3 separate regions of the Homo sapiens genome follow, and all the other regions are linked to region 1. Evidence: promoter capture Hi-C in human tissues and cell types (Jung and others, 2019). All regions are on one chromosome and are shown on one strand. Each heading gives the region's core, a stretch centred on a gene start or on the middle of the fragment in contact. The rest is flanking DNA. Distances are from core to core; before and after follow the strand shown. Region 1 holds the start of SETBP1 (SET binding protein 1). Region 2 overlaps SLC14A2-AS1 (SLC14A2 antisense RNA 1). Region 3 has its middle 170 kb from the start of SLC14A2-AS1.

Region 1 (5,069 bases), core at 913-3,412:
CCCCCTTTGTAGGCCAAATACAAAAACTCAGAGATTACAAATGCCACCATATTTTGTAAGAACTGAAGACATTCCACTTTGTTCTTCCCACCCTGAAAACAACTGCATGCCAGTCTGCGTTTGTCATCTCTCCGTGTCCTTCCCTTCATCAAGTGTCCAATTCTCTTGAATAACGAGAAAATGCACATGAGATCTGAATGCATACAAGTCGCTTAACAACAACAATAAAATAATAATAATAATTTAAAAAAACCCTGAAAGTGAAATATAATTACCAGGTTAAAAAAAAAATGCGCCCAGTTTCGAGAGCCTATCACAGCTCACGTCTGGGCGCGCAGTACCCCCCCGACACTGCTCCTGTTGTGTCAGATAGTGGCAGTGTTGAGCCCAGGAATACGCGCGGAGCCCGCGGCGATCCCCGCGGCCGCTCAGTCTTCGCGGCGGACTCCGGCGCGCAGGAGCCACTGGGCCGCAAGGGCGCCGGGGAGCGGGAGGGGCGCTGGGGGCGGCAAGGGGTCCCAGATCCCAGGCCACGAACTGTTTTCCTTTTCCCCGGGCAAGAGCCCCGCTCCCTTCAACTGACAGAAATTCACTGGGGCAGGGGGGCGAGTGGGGAGAGAGGTCGCTCAGGGCTCGCTACTGGCTGCGCCTCCCCCGGCTCTGGTCTGGGAAGCGGCTCTGGGCCCTCCGGGCGAGCAGCTTGGGCGCCGGCGCCCCCTGCGAGGAAGATCGCGGGGTGACGGTCGGTACCCGTTCGGCTGGGCCGCGCTGCCGCTCCGATCCACCTCCCTTCCGCGCCCGCGCCCTCCCCCTTCCTTTCACTAGGAGTCCGGGATTCGGAGAGGGCGCGGGAGGCAGGCACACGGGCCCGACCCCACTCCAGCGCTCACCGGGGACGCGGGCGGGCGGCGACGGGACGCGGCGGGGGCGCGGGGCGGGCGCGGCCATGGAGCAGCAGCGGCGGCGGCGGCGGCGGCGGCGGCAACACTAGCGACCGCGGGCGGACGAGCGGGCGGGCAGGGCCGCCGGGCTCAGCGGACCGAACTGCACAGCTCAGCAAAAGCGCCCTCGCCCTCCGCGCGCCGCCTCCTGCGAGCCCAAACCCACCAACATTTTTTAACGCTCCAACCCATCCTTTGAAGAAAAGCAAAAAAAAAAAAAAAAAAAAAAAAAAAAGCAAAAAAAGAAAAAGCATTGATCGGAGAGACGGGGATATATATATATATATATATATATATATATATATAAAATTTTTTTTGGCTCCTGCTAAAATTAGCAGGGCTCGCCGCGCGCCTGTGTGCCAGTGTGTGCGAGTGTGTGTGCGTGCGGGCGTGTGTGTGTGAATGTGATTACTCCAGGACTCCTCGGGCTCCGGAGACGCCATTTTCCCCCTTGATATCTCTCTCCATAAATCGGTGGCGCGGCGGAGGCGGCAGAGTCGGGCGGGAAGCGCGGGGCCGGCCGGGGCGCCCGCCGCTCGCCGCCGCCTCCGCGCGCCCGGGGGCCCCGGCGCCCCCCGAGCTAGGGCGGCCAGCTCGCGGCTCGCCGTTTGACAGATGCTCATCGCCATGGAGTTGCCGCAGCAGCACCTTTGGGGGCTCGGGCGAGCGACGGGAGCCGGGATCTGAGCGAGCGCCGGGGCCAGCGGAGCCGGAGCCGCCGGGACATGGGTGAGCACGCGCGGCGACCTTGGCCCGGGAGCCCGGGCGCCCAGCCTCCCTCCGCGCCGCGGGCCCCCGCACTCCCGGAACCGGGGGCGACGTGTGTGCCCTGCATGCAAAAGTTCACGTCGCCTTGCTGGGTCTTTGACTTTGCACCCGGCGGGAAGGGGGAGACCGGGCCGAGGGGGCGGGATGCCGGTCCGGGCGAGGTTGCAGGAGATGGGCGCGATTCCGGCGGGCCGGCGGGTGGGCGGCGATGCTGGCTCAATTGGAGTGGCTCGTTGGTGGCGGCGATGGTGGAAGCTTTGGGCTGGAGGGCTGGGAGCTTATTGAGTTTCGCCTAATCTGATCTACCCCCCCTCCGCCCCCCGCCTTTTGCACCCTCCCTCGGTCCTGCAGCCGGCTGGCGGGGCTGGCGGGTTTGGCGTTGGTGGAGTGGACTCGGGAGGGGGAGGGGGTAAGGAAAGGGGTGGGAAGGCAGGATTTTTTTTTTCTCTCTTTGTAACTTGCAGGTTAAGTGGAGCTAGAGAGCTACATTGTAACCTAGTTGGATTTTTTTGGGGGGGGAATGTATCAGAATCTAACGTGTCGTTAATAGAAAGAAGAACAGGCAAGAAGTGGTCCAGCCGGCGAAGGTTGGTGTGTGCTTGTGTTGTGCCTGTGTGTTAGTCTTTTTCTTAAAAATCTTAATCAATGGATTTGAGTCTCTTTCTTGTGCTCTCTGGTTTTGGGACTCTGAAAAGATAGGAATTCCCTTAAAAGCAGACGAATGCCTTTTTGAAAGCACGCATTGTGTGCGTTTCTAGAGGAGCCGTGGGCTTGGGAATGAACGGCAGGCTTCCCCGTTCGGTGGTTTCCAGTGGGAAATCACTCCGGAAAGGGAACCCTTCGGTATCGATTTATTGTTTTTGTCTTCCAAACCATTATCTCTTTGACCGAAATACTGTCTGAGAAGTTCCGCAGGGACAAAGTCAGGTAAACTGGACCGGGCAGATCTTTGGCAAGATGGTGATAACGGGGATGCTGTTTTCAGTGTCTGTTTGTGATGGAAGCATTGTTGGGTAATAGCAATTTCTGATCGGTAGAGCATGCTGGTTCTAAAAAAATAAGTTAACTGCCGAAATACTGTCTTCCAGCCCCCCTCCCCTGCACAGTACAGCACCTATTCCCCCCGCCCCCCCATCCAGACCGCTTACTACAAGTCTGAAATCGGATCCAACTGGAAATATTTTCATTGGAGATTGAAAGTTGTGCAATTGGAAATAGATGAGGCTAGAGGTATTGAGAGTGTGGAAGGGGAGTTCTTATTGCCCCCTAATGCTGCATTTATTCTTTATGTGTGTCTGTGTTGGATTCTCAGGGTGTGTATCTGTCTAAAAGGACTGTTGTGGGAAGGATTTCCGATTCGTTTCCGTTTCAAATAAACTGTCCTGATAATCTCACGGTTGACATCTAACGCTAAAAGGGCAATTTGTGTGTCTCTTTATCCCTGCAGAAACTCTCCTCCAAAAGGGCAGTTTATTCTGGAATTCTACAGCAGATACCTTTCCCTTCCAGCCCCTACACTCCCCCCACCTCCTGCCAACTATCCACACCTTTCCCCTTAAAGTTTAGTTGGAGTCCACTGGCGTTGATTGTTTTTCTCTTACATCTTTTTCCTTCTTTTTCTTTTCATTCCTTCACTCTTCATCCTGTTTTTCTTCTTTTTCTGTAGATTTATACTAAAAACTAATTTCTTGAAGTCTCTGTACTGTCACCAAAACTATCTGCCGATTTGGCACCATCTCTTACCCTCCTTTAGTAAATAGGTATATCTCCTGTGCCCCATCCAAACTCATCTTCACGTGCAAAGCATGTGTGTGTCGTGGGAGAAAGGGGATGGGGTAGAGAAGAGGTATTTGGAGAGGAAGGGCGGTGTTGTGTGCAGGCCACATCTTCAACACTGGACCAGACCTGGGCATTCCGGGGAGAGTTTCCTTTGCACACCCCAGCTGGGATGGGAAGGCGGAGCCAACCAGACAGGGGCGTGTGAGGGAGGAGAAAGTTTGTAGCACTTTAAGATGTAGCTAGTTTACCATCCCAGGTCACTCCCTCCCTTTTTTTCTGATTTCTCTGGCTTCTACCATCCTTAAACTCCCTGAGGGAGGCGTGAGCTCTTTTGCTCTGACGAGGGATTCCCAGGTGTCAGAGTGAAGGTGAGGTGCTGTGTTTTCCCCTGTGCTTAGTCTCATTGCCTGTTCCCAGAAAAGGGTATTAAGACAGAGTGTTTGGGGGAAAGTCGGAAGAGGAGGAAGAAATCAAGTGTGGTTAAACAGAGTATTTGCAAACGGCAGGGAATGTAGCCCCCAAAGATATGGAGACCAGGTACCCAGAGTGTTGCTTGGCACACGATTTCTCCTCCCCCGTTAAGGGGACAAAACCAAAACCAAAACAAACTATTGGTCTTGGGAAGTTGAGTTGGTGTTAGACCTGGGCTGTGGGAGTTGCTAGCCACTATAGTAACCTGAGCTGAGCTGGGGGAGGAGGTGGTGAGCGAATGCACCACCGGGAGCCAGAGGAGGGAAAGGGACTCGTCTCTCTTAGCTGGGAAAATAGATGTATCTCTGGAATAAACAAACTGGAGGTGGGGGAGGGGATGGCTTGCAGTGAACATAAGGTGGAGTGTCTGAGAGGCAGTAGTGTCGGTTAAGAAGGGGGCCACTTCTAGCTTGGGAGAAAATATCAACTGCCTTATATGTTCATGAAAGGGCTAGGCAAGTGAAGGGCTGTAATTTGATCTTTTGTATGTTAGCATCAGAATGTTACATAGGAAGGCTCTGCTGGAAGGCCCAGTTTTGGACATCACACAGGGGAACCTAGAGGTATCTTTAAGTTAACCCAACAGCCCCTGCTGCCATAAGGGCTTCTGGTCATGGACTTGCCTTGCTCAGAGTGAGCTACTTTGTAAATCACCTGACCTAAATGAGGGTTGGGGAAAAAGGAAACAGTGCTTGGGAGTGTTTTAGGATTTAGTTGAAAATGGTGAGTGGGGAGAGGCAGGAGGCAGGATTTTGCTGAAGAAGAAATAAATAGGTAGGTACTTTCCCCTGGATTCCATTTCTCCTGTTAACTTTGAATTCCTCTAGGGGATGAATCGATACTTGTCTGGCACAAAAGTGTACCTCTAGGAGAGGAGAGTTCTCTCAATGTGGTCATTATTTTTAGTTGTACTTCAATCTCTGCTCCAAAGCTTCTATATAGTATGCAAAAGGAAGCAGATGAGAAATAGCTAGCTGGATGGGGCATCCTTTCTGGGTTCCTGTGGAGACACTGAAACTTGGCTGGGCCTGGACCTCCCAGAATGCCAGTTTTTTCCTTGGAGACTTGAAGTTTAAATTGAAACCAGAAAGCTATTGAAGGCAGATCCAG
Region 2 (5,069 bases), core at 1,404-3,903, 760 kb after region 1:
ACTGACTTCTCTATTTCTGGTCTCCTATTTTTGCCCAATCTCTGGAGCTGAACTGTGGATTTGAAACCATCTGACTGCTTCTGCCTGCTCCCAACTGTCCCTTCCCTCGGACAGCCATGCCCTCTCTTTTTCCACTTTGGCTGTCTTTGACTGCATTCTACTTATGCCAATGTTCCAGCCTCACTGCTCAGAAAAATAACAAGGTGCCTTTTTAAAATGTAGTTTTACATAATTTTTCAGCTTGGGAAATGCTAAGAAATGGCTCTTTCAAGCAGAGATTCCAAGGATAAGTCTACATGTGCCCTCTTGTGGAGGGGCATGATATTCAAATGATTTGGAAATGGAATAAAATCCAAACGGGCTGCCATTTCTCTGCCCTCACACTCCCCTTTTCTCCACCCAGTCAAAACCCTAAAAGAAGAATGCCATAGCCATTACCCAGGACCGCCATGGATCTTGGCTTCAGGAGACAGGGTGAGAGAACACTCCTAAGTGTGGGACCACCAGTGCTTAGTGCTGGAAGGGCAGTAAGACAAGGAGGCCTAGGAGGAATCTGGTCTGTTTGGCTTCAGTGAGAGAGCCAAGTTCAACTTTTCTCTGTGTTTGTGTGCATGCACACGTGCACGCATGCCCATACATGTGTGTTTGTGACATCTACATGGATGGATGCCAGAGGGCAAGGAGGTACTCTGGCCACAGAAACCAGGAATGAGGAAGCATTTTAGGTTTAATCTTGGCTTTCCTTCCCAGCCCAGATGAATTTAGGAATTTGCTCTCTCAGAAACAATATGAAGCATGCACTGCATTTGGGGGCCTCCAGTGCATTTTCAGGGCTAAAGAAATGAAACGAGAAGATTGAAGAGGGAAACTTTATTTTCTAATGTCATCCCTTGGCATTTGATTTGGGATTCTGTTAATTGCTGAACAAGGAGAAACATGAAAAAAGTAGACAACAGACCCCGGAGTGCTATTAGTGATGGGAGTGTGACCTGGGAGAACTGGCTGTCCTATTCCAGGCTGACAAGGAAGATGTATCATATCTGGCTTGTTGTGGAGGAAAAACTAGCCTTTCCTAGCTTTTACCAACACAATTTCCCGTACCTGAGAAGGAGCAGAGCATGCAGATCCAAGTTTGAATACTGGCTTTGCTCCTTACCTGCTATGTGGTCTTGGGCAAGTTATTTAACTGATGTGAGCCTCAGTTTCCTTGTTGATAAAATGAGGATAGGACTATTCAAAGGCTTTGTGGTAGTATGCTAGCACTGCCATCACAAAGTGCCGCAAACTGGATGGCTTAAATAACAGAAATTTATTGTCTCACACTTCTGGTGTCCAGAAGTCAGAGATCAAGGTATTGATAGAGTTCATTCCTTCTGAGACTGTGAGGAAGATTCTGTTCCATGTCTCTCCTCTTGCTTCTGGTGGTTTGCTGGCAATCTTTGACTTTCGTTGGCATGTCAAGGCATCACTCAGATCTCTGCCTTCATCCTCACACAGTATTCTCCCTTTGTGTATGTCTCTATATCCAAATTTCCTCTTTTTATTAAGACACAGGTTATGTTGGATTAGGAGCCCACCCTACTCCATTATAACCTTATCTTAACTCATTACATCTGGGATAAACTTATTTCCAAATAAGATTATACTCTAATATATTAAGAGTTAGGACTTCAACATATGAATTTTGGGAAGATACAATCAATTCATAAAAGGCTTGTCAGAAAAAAAAGTGAGATGTATATAAAGCTTAATTACAAATTAAGTGTTCCATAAAGGAAGCTACTATCACTATTGTTATTGTTTGCTAAGCCTTCATTTGCTAAAGATTTATCTTTAACTAAGTCAGGTAGCTAGAAAAAAATTCCCTCCTGTATACATCAACCATATTGTCTAGGTTGCCCAGGATGTGTCTGTGCATGGGGATTGGCAGGTGCTAGGTTGTTGAAGCTTTTAGACTGTGTCTACACAATGTCAATATGTGGGCCAGCTGTGCACATATGTATGGTTTTATATGTGCATGTTTTGAAAACTATTTGGGAAAGTCTCCTTGCTCCAAAGTCTAAACCCACTGAAATTTAACCATGAGATTTATCCTTGTTTCAAATTAACAGTTTCCCCAGTATATTAGTTGGCAGTGTAGGTTCACTGAAGGGGAAGGGGAAGGTGAAGGTTTACATTCTGAAGATTCACTGAAAATCACTGACAAGAGGCAAACTAATAGGAGAAGAGGCATATAAATGTGTGTGATCATAGTTTTCCATGACTTGTGAGCTTTCAAAATGAAGACCCAAAGATGCAGGGAAAACTGTCTATTTTTATGCTTAGGTTCAGCAAAGTAAGGATAACTATGTAGAAATACAACTGGACAAAAAAAGGCATCATCTGATGCTAATGGACTGATTGGGGATGCCCAGTAAGGCCTGTCTGTCTAGATTCTTCTTGGCCTCTTTGAACACACAATCTTTCCGTGGATGTGTGGCAGAACTGTCTCTGGAATGGGGGTCTTATGACCTACAGTCAAAGAAGATAGGTCAGATAATTTCTTGATGGCCATCTTGATTTACACAGAAAGGCAGTGGGGGTGGGGGAAGAGTTAGAGTAATCTTTGTAGGTTTTATGGCTGGATTGGGGGAAATGGAGTTCTAGTTTCTGTGATCTTCTGTAGGGCAGAGGGGTTCTAGTTTCTATGGCTAGCCTTGGGAAGAATGAGAGGCAGAGAGAGGAGGGCAGGTCAGAGAAAGACTTTTGCTTCTGAGGGATTTGTTTTGGGGTATGTTTTTCTGAGACCCTACATCAGTCACTCAGATCTCATTTTGAATAAGGGTGTAAGGCATTCCCTCTCTTCATTTGAAATAATAATAGTCAGCTGGGTGCAGAGGCTCTTTGAAAGGGAAGGAGAAAGAAGCCTATCCAGAGTAGTCTTTTCCATAATCCAGGCCTTAGGGAGAGAAAACAGGTGCAATTAGCAGTACAAAATTCCTGGAAACACACATGGAGAGTGGGTCCCTGGAAAAAGTAAAGAGGACAAGGGAGAAGAAATGGAAGCACAGTAGAGTAACCATTACCAATGCTGCAAATTTGTTTCTATCATAAAGAAAGTTTGGATCCTCTGTGGAACCATCAGCAATGTATCTGAAGGCAGACTTTTGTGCGTGTACTGAAGAACCAACTGGAAGCCCTGTTCTAAGGTTTTCTGAGGTGTTAACAGCAATCCTAGAGATAAGACAAGTTGAGAGCTCTGGCTAGGGAGTCTGGAAGCTGAAGCTCTGCTCCTGCTTTGTGGCAATCTTGTAGGTTTTCTTATCTGTAAAGTGAGTGGATGCACTACCTTCTCCCTGTGGACCCTGCCAGTTCTGACATACTTTGATATTCTGATCCTGGCTCAGACCCCACTCCAGCCCCAAAGTCAGTAAGAAAGAAATTCTGCTGAATTCTGTCATGAAGGATAATGCTATCCCCAGCATAGGTTTCTTCCTGGCTGGATCTGAAATAGGTTTTCAGAAGGGGGAAAATAAAGAAGAAAAGATGATCTGTCCATATTTAAAAAGGAGTGAGTTGCCGTTGGATGGAAACCTGAACTGGGCTTGTGCATGCCTGTCTTTGAAGTGTGGAAAGGCACTATCATGTGAGTGAATATGATGAATTAGGCTATTTGATTAAGCAGGATGAAACTGGTGAGCCAGCTTTCTCTATTTCATTTTATCTAATGGCTGTAATCAGAAATCATGCCATCATCTCTTTAAAAGTGGGAGCCAGTGGCGAGCCGCACAGGTAGGTGTGCATCGACAGCTCTTTTTAAAGCTACTTCTCTCAGGGAGCCTATGAGAGGTGGAGAAAGTGGAGAGGTCTCTACCAACATCAAAGTCATTAGATCACGTTGTCAATTCAGCTAATAGCCCATTGGTTCAATTTCCTTTTGTAAACTTGGATTTGATAGCCAGTATCTAATACAATGACTGGTACCAAGTAATGTGCTTCGAAAATATTTGTTAAATGAATTAATGAGTGAATGGAACTATGAAGGAATGCAAAACAAATGGATGATGGGAATCTTGTAGGTAAGGGAGTAAATGTGCAGATGTTTAACTCTTTGTGGCAAATTGACATGCTTTTTTTTTTTTTTTTTTTTTTTAAGACGGAGTCTTGCTCTGTTCCCCAGGCTGAAGTGCAGTGGCACAACGTTGGCTCACCGAAACCTCCGCCTCCCAGGTTCAAGCAATTCTCTTGCCTCAGCCTCCCAAGTAGCTGGGACTACAGGCATGCACCACCATGCCTGGCTAATTTTTATATTTTTAGTAGATATGTGGTTTCACTATGTTGGCCAGGCAGATCTCGAACTCCTGACCTCATGATCTGCCCGCCTCAGCCTTCCAAAGTGCTGGGATTACAGGCGTGAGCCACCAAGCCTGGCCTGACACCATTTTTGATAGGACGTAAGAGACATTTGTGATGGAGGATCCAACTGTTTATTCTTTAGTGATAAAAACAAAGATGCCTACATTTGAGTCTGTGGTGGTCTTTTCTTCACTTGCTGTGTAAACTTGGGGAGATTGCCCAATCTCTCTCTGCTTGTTTTCTCATCTTTAAAACAAGAATAATAAGAATACCAACCTAGCTCATAGGAATGATTGAAAGATTGAATGAGTAATATGTGCAAACATTAATTGAAGTTAGTGGCCCAACAAGCTACAGATTAGGTTAGATGAGAATAGAGTTGGCCCTATGCAGATATCACAGATGGAGTAGGCAGTTGCCTTTATGGCATGATATCAAGAGGCAGATGAGGCCCTTCCCTCCCAAATATTATCCCACTAACCTGTAGTGTGCCTAAAATTCCTACTCTTAGAATTCTCTTTGAGCTAAAGAAAATGCCTAGAGAAGCCACATTAGTAACACGTGGAAAGGAACACTTTCAGGAAAGTGGTTCTTTTGGGAAATAACCACTGATTATTCTACCTTCAGAAGGCAGAGCAGTAAGCAAAGACATTAAAGCCTTGGCTTTGGAGTCACTGGGTTCTAACTTAGGCTATATAATTTTCTCCAAAATCTTAGTGTTCTCCATTATAAAG
Region 3 (5,069 bases), core at 1,918-4,417, 650 kb after region 1:
GCCTCATGCCTAGACTGTATTTTTTAGTCTAGATTTTAGTAGAGGGTCTTACATGAGGGTGAGGATGGAGAGCAGGAACATAGAAAGTCAGTTTTCCTACAACAGCTAGGACTTCACAGAACCAGACTTTTCCCTTCTCTATTTGAGATATCTCTATATATCAATCAATCAATCAGTCATTCTATCTATCTGTCTATCTCTCCATCCATCCATCCAGCCAGCCAGCCAGCCATCTAGCTAGCTTTCTCATTAGGAAATTCCTGGCAGTGGAGGGAGTGGAGAGTTACCTAGCTCTCCTCTTAACAAAATATGCTCAACCCAAGATGTTCCTGATTTAAGCAAGGTTCTAAGCACCACAATTCCCTATTATGAGCTAGCTATCCCACCTACTTGGTAGGAGCCATAATGTAATTAGTATATTTTTTTTACTCTTGAAGAATGTGCATTTGGGCTCTTTTTCTAGTAATAAGGGCCTGCAAATCAATAGCCCAGTGCTTTTTTGGTAAAATTTACATATAAATTTTACCATTTTTACCATGCTAAATGTAGCCCAGTGTACCATGCTAAATGAGACAGCTCAGTGGCATTAAGTACATTCGCAATGCCATGCAACCATCACCACTATCCATCTCCAGACCTTTTTCATCATCCCAAACAGAAACCGTACTCAAATAGAAACACTTTACCCATTCAAAAACCCTCAATCTCTTCTCCTCTGCATTACAGTCCCTGGTACCCTCTATTCTACCTCTGTCTCTATGAATTTGACTACTCTAGGTACTTCATGTAAGTGGAATCATATACATATTTGTCCTTTTGTGTCTGGCTTCTTTCACACAGCATAAGGTTTTCAAGGTTCGTCTACGTTGTAGCATGTGTCAGAATTTTCTTCCTTTTTGAGGCCGAAAACATTTTGTTTATGTATGTATCCATTGATGGACTAGGCCAGGCACTTTTATTATGTCATTGGTTGGGTGTGATGTATATTTACCTAAATTATAGGGGTAGGAGTGAGCGAAGGGAATGATAAGGCTTGGTAAATTCATAGACAGCCTCTGAATGAGGCTTCATAAACTATAGAAAGATTATGGTGCCTACTTTTCTCTGAACTAAAAATGAGAAGGACATGACTTGACAGATATCATGTTTGTATGGGGATAGCTGAAGAGAATGTTGGAAATATACTGTCTAGACACTTAAGCAGGTTTGGTAAACATAGCCCTCTTGGCAACTGAAAAAACAAAGTGGAAGAAAAAAAAATGTTGTTCCATAAGGATTTTCCTCCTGGAACAAAGGCTTTAGAGCTCTCTGTTCCCTCTCCTCCTCATGCTCCCTTTTCCCAGGCCTGTTTATCTGACTCTTTATTCCTGCCTCTCATATGAAAGCAAGTGCATTCTCCTCCTGAAGGTGCTTGTGTCTGCAGAGCAAAAAGGAAGTGTGGTCCTGGAGTCCCCAGCAAACGCATCTCAGGGTATGCTGCTTGTGGCTCAAGTAGGAGGTCTGTGTTTATTATCACTGAACATCAACCACAGGGCCAGAGACAGGAATGATGGACAAAGCCATGGATACTAGCGCAGGACAAAAGCCAACTCTGTCACAGCATTTTCAGGGTTTCAGTTGCACTGAGGTTATGCCCTGAGACAGCTGCTCTTGAGCTCAGATAAGACAACTCAGTCTTGAGATTCATGAAGTCTCAGTAACTCCCTCAGGGGCTGCGTCAACTTCTTGGAGGGGTATTTGGACATCAAGAAGTTGATAGAATAACAATAGGATTAAATTTGTGATTTGGTAAAGAACAAGTTCCCAGAAAATCTTCCTTCTCTTCCTTGACCCTAACTGGTAGATTACATGTTATGTAAGAAGCATATGCTTAACACTAAAGATGGGAGCTCCTTCTGCAAGGTGATGGGGGAGCACTGGAGGAGGAGCCAATTGGTTTTTATGAAAAGCAAAGGAATTATGAAAAGCACATTGCAAATCTTGTTATTTTTCTTATAATACGTTCCAAACCCAAACAAACTCAAAAAAAGTATGTGTGCAAAAGCAAACCTTAAACCATTTTGCGAATCCCGCCCTAGATTTCACATTTCTCCAGTGAAGCTCACATTCCTTTATTCAGATTCCAAAAGTAGAGATAATTTGTTCCAAATGTTTCCAAAGCCGACCAGCAGAAGGGCCTAACGATTTTTCCAGAGCTGGAGAAAACTGTGAAATTTTCTACACTCTAATGGAGCATTCAAAGTGAAAGAAAAAAAGGAGACAAGTGAGGGGAAAGGGAAAAGAAATGTTTTGATGATCTATTTGTTTATTTTGTTACGGTTATGGCTCTTTGACAAGGTCTGGGGAGAGATGCTGATTGCCAATGTCTTATTTCCTTTGGCAAGGTAGCATTTCTTCTGTATTATGGAGCAGATTATGATGGAGGAAATGGCCATACAATTATATATTTCTTGCAAGACGGTGAGGCAAGTTCATTTCAAAGAGACTGAACTTGGGGAGCCTTAGGGATGATGAGTGTGTATGTGTGCATGCTGGCAGCACCCTGCCTCTAGAGTGATCCCTGTCCTCCTCCCTAGCATATCTTCAAATAACCATCAATTTGCAGACTACAACACCCTCTACAAATAGAAAAGACTGTGTCCCAGGGAAGCTTCCATTTAGAAATGTGCTTGAGCATTTGGAGCCAAAGCTAGTGATTGACACCTGAGGTAATTTATAAGGAGGGGGTAAGACTCAGTGGAGCAAGAATGAAAGGTTTTTTTTCCCCACTTTTTCTCAATTGCCACCAGCCTGTGTTGTTATCCAATTGTTTAAAATATGTATACCTTGACTCTGCTGTGAGATTCTAAATGCCTGCAAGTCTAGAAGTGCATCTTTCTCTTCTTTGTAACTCCCACAGTGCCCAGCACAGTGCTTGACCAGAAATAGATGTTTATTTGGGAAGGAAAAAGATAGAAGGAGATACTATACATGCATGGAGCCAACACAAAGAAACAAACAAACAAAAACTTAGGTAAACTCAACTAGGCAGACACCCAGTTTAAATTCCAAGTCATCATGGTTTGTAATATAATAAATAATACTTGTAAACCTATTATCATCCTTGCTATCATGGGCACCATTTATTGAGGTTATGTTGTGTGCAGTGACAAGTGCTTTATATACATACTCTCACTTAACCTTCATAACCATTCAGCAAAGAGAAAATAATATCTCGTTCTACAGAAGAGGAAACTAAGGCTCAAAGAATTAAATAATTTTGGATTTCAGTGACTGAAGGAGGGTCTGAACCTGCTTGGTTGATGAGTCTTTGGGTGTAAGCTGAGACCTGGAAAGCAAGCAGAACTGATATCCCAGCCAGCTCATTCAGTAGGGTCAAGCAAGGAGCTAGTGAGACCAGAGCCATGACTGTGACCTCTGGTGTTTGTGTTACATCAAGACAGCCTCTTTTTTTGGCTTCCAATTGTACCCCTAAGCCTGTCCAGCTGGACTTGAAATTGGTCACAGACAATTGGTCACAGGCAAAAGAGTGTGGGTAGCTGGGGGAAAATTTATCATTAGGCTTGAGGTTGCATTTCAGAGCACACGGCCTTCTGATGGGAGGCTGGGAAAACATTTTTGTGTGTAAGTGATGATGGTGCATGGTTGCCAGAGGCTGAGGAGTGATGAACGTGGAATGTTAGTCATGCCCTATCTTTGAGTGATAGAGGATATACTAAAGAAGGCAGAATGCCTGCCCATCCCAAATAGCCCACAGGAACATGGAATATGGACTTCATGAGTTAGCACACATAGATCCTTTTTCAGCTCTGCATGCAGATGTGAGGTCATGGATGTGATGCACCCAGGCAAGTCTTCACTCTCCCGCCAGACCCTTAACACGCTGTCCCTCGGGCCATTTCCAATTCAGAAAGTCTTGTATTAGAGAAAGAGAATATTGGGCTTGAAATAAGAAGATCAAGATTCTGGATCAAGTCTTTCATTGACACTCACTAGCTAGAGAAGCCGTTGCACTGAGTCTACAATTCCTGAGCTAAAAGTTTGGGATAATCTCTGCCTTCTTGAATTTATGTGGTTGTTGTGAGGATAAATTGACACATACCACACAAACATGGAAGTGCTTCATGCATTTTCAAAAAATACGTGATTGAAAAAATATACAAATGGTGATATAACATAAAACCCAAGGAACATAAGAAAATACATAGGTAAAATTGTTGATATTTTTGTGCCCCAAATTCTGTAAGACTTTTGGATAAAATAATTGGAGACATATATGACACCATTCAACCCACAACAGCCATATTCCTAGCAAGTACTGCATCGATGTTCAGGCATCCGTCTTTAGAATATACGGACATCTAACTCCCTTTGTCTTCAGATTTGGGAACCCAGTGAAGTAAAACCTAAAGCCAAGTCTCCTGTAATATCCCCTTATACAAATACTAAATTATTTTAAAACTACATAAAAATTTTGACAAGCAGCATGGAGCTGCTCTTCCCTCAGCAAGTTTCTAAAGATGGCAAAGAAGTAACCCTCTCTTTTTTAGTTTTTACATAATTTAAAAAATATTTAATCCTGGCCGGGTGTGGTGGCTCACGCCTGTAATCCCAGCACTTTGGGAGGCTGAGGCAGGCGGATCACAAGGTCAGGAGATCGAGACCATCCTGGCTAACACGTGAAACCCTGTCTGTACTAAAAATAAAAAAAAATTAGCCGGGCGTGGTGGCGGACACCTGTAGTCCCAGCTACTCGGGAGGCTGAGGCAGGAGAATGGCATGAACCCAGGAGGCGGAGGTTGCAGTGAGCCGAGATCGCACCACTGCACTCCAGCCTGGGTGACAGAGCGAGACTCCGTCTCAAAAAAAAAAAAAAAAATTAATCCTTCAAACATACATAAAATAGAATAGTATATATGCCCTCATGTACCATTACTTGAATGATCCTTAACATTCTAGCACTCTTGTTCCATCTATTTTCCTGCACCAAAAACACAAACACAAAACACTCAGACCTGCTTTGAAATATTCCAGGAAAACAAATATATTTTACTTCTAAATATGAAGTG

Evidence for each region. Contacts are between HindIII fragments. The study calls those that stand out against the background at their distance.
Region 2: a contact is called between a fragment that was not itself captured here and the fragment with the promoter of SETBP1 in region 1, in 1 of the 25 tissues and cell types used here (dorsolateral prefrontal cortex).
Region 3: a fragment that was not itself captured here is called in contact with the fragment with the promoter of SETBP1 in region 1 in 1 of the 25 tissues and cell types used here (dorsolateral prefrontal cortex).

The regions. Positions count from the first base shown.
Region 1 is chr18:44,678,726-44,683,794 of GRCh38, forward strand. SETBP1 (SET binding protein 1) reads left to right here and starts at 2,163. Exons shown (of 6, transcript NM_015559.3): 1 at 2,163-2,296. It overlaps SETBP1-DT (SETBP1 divergent transcript), which reads right to left and starts at 1,147. Exons shown (of 2, transcript NR_187430.2): 1 at 891-1,147; 2 at 1-164. RefSeq lists silencers at 288-927, 1,598-1,847, 1,988-2,037 and enhancers at 3,909-3,978, 4,089-4,158, 4,209-4,298. The HindIII fragment of the contact is 9,552 bases long and covers 1-3,427 here.
Region 2 is chr18:45,440,998-45,446,066 of GRCh38, forward strand. The region is part of intron 6 of SLC14A2-AS1 (SLC14A2 antisense RNA 1); the gene reads right to left. It also overlaps a transcript of SLC14A2 not described here. Among named protein-coding and RNA genes, the nearest start is that of SLC14A2-AS1, 61 kb to the right of the region's middle. The HindIII fragment of the contact is 3,859 bases long and covers 725-4,583 here.
Region 3 is chr18:45,326,829-45,331,897 of GRCh38, forward strand. It overlaps a transcript of SLC14A2 not described here. Among named protein-coding and RNA genes, the nearest start is that of SLC14A2-AS1, 170 kb to the right of the region's middle. The HindIII fragment of the contact is 5,428 bases long and covers 454-5,069 here.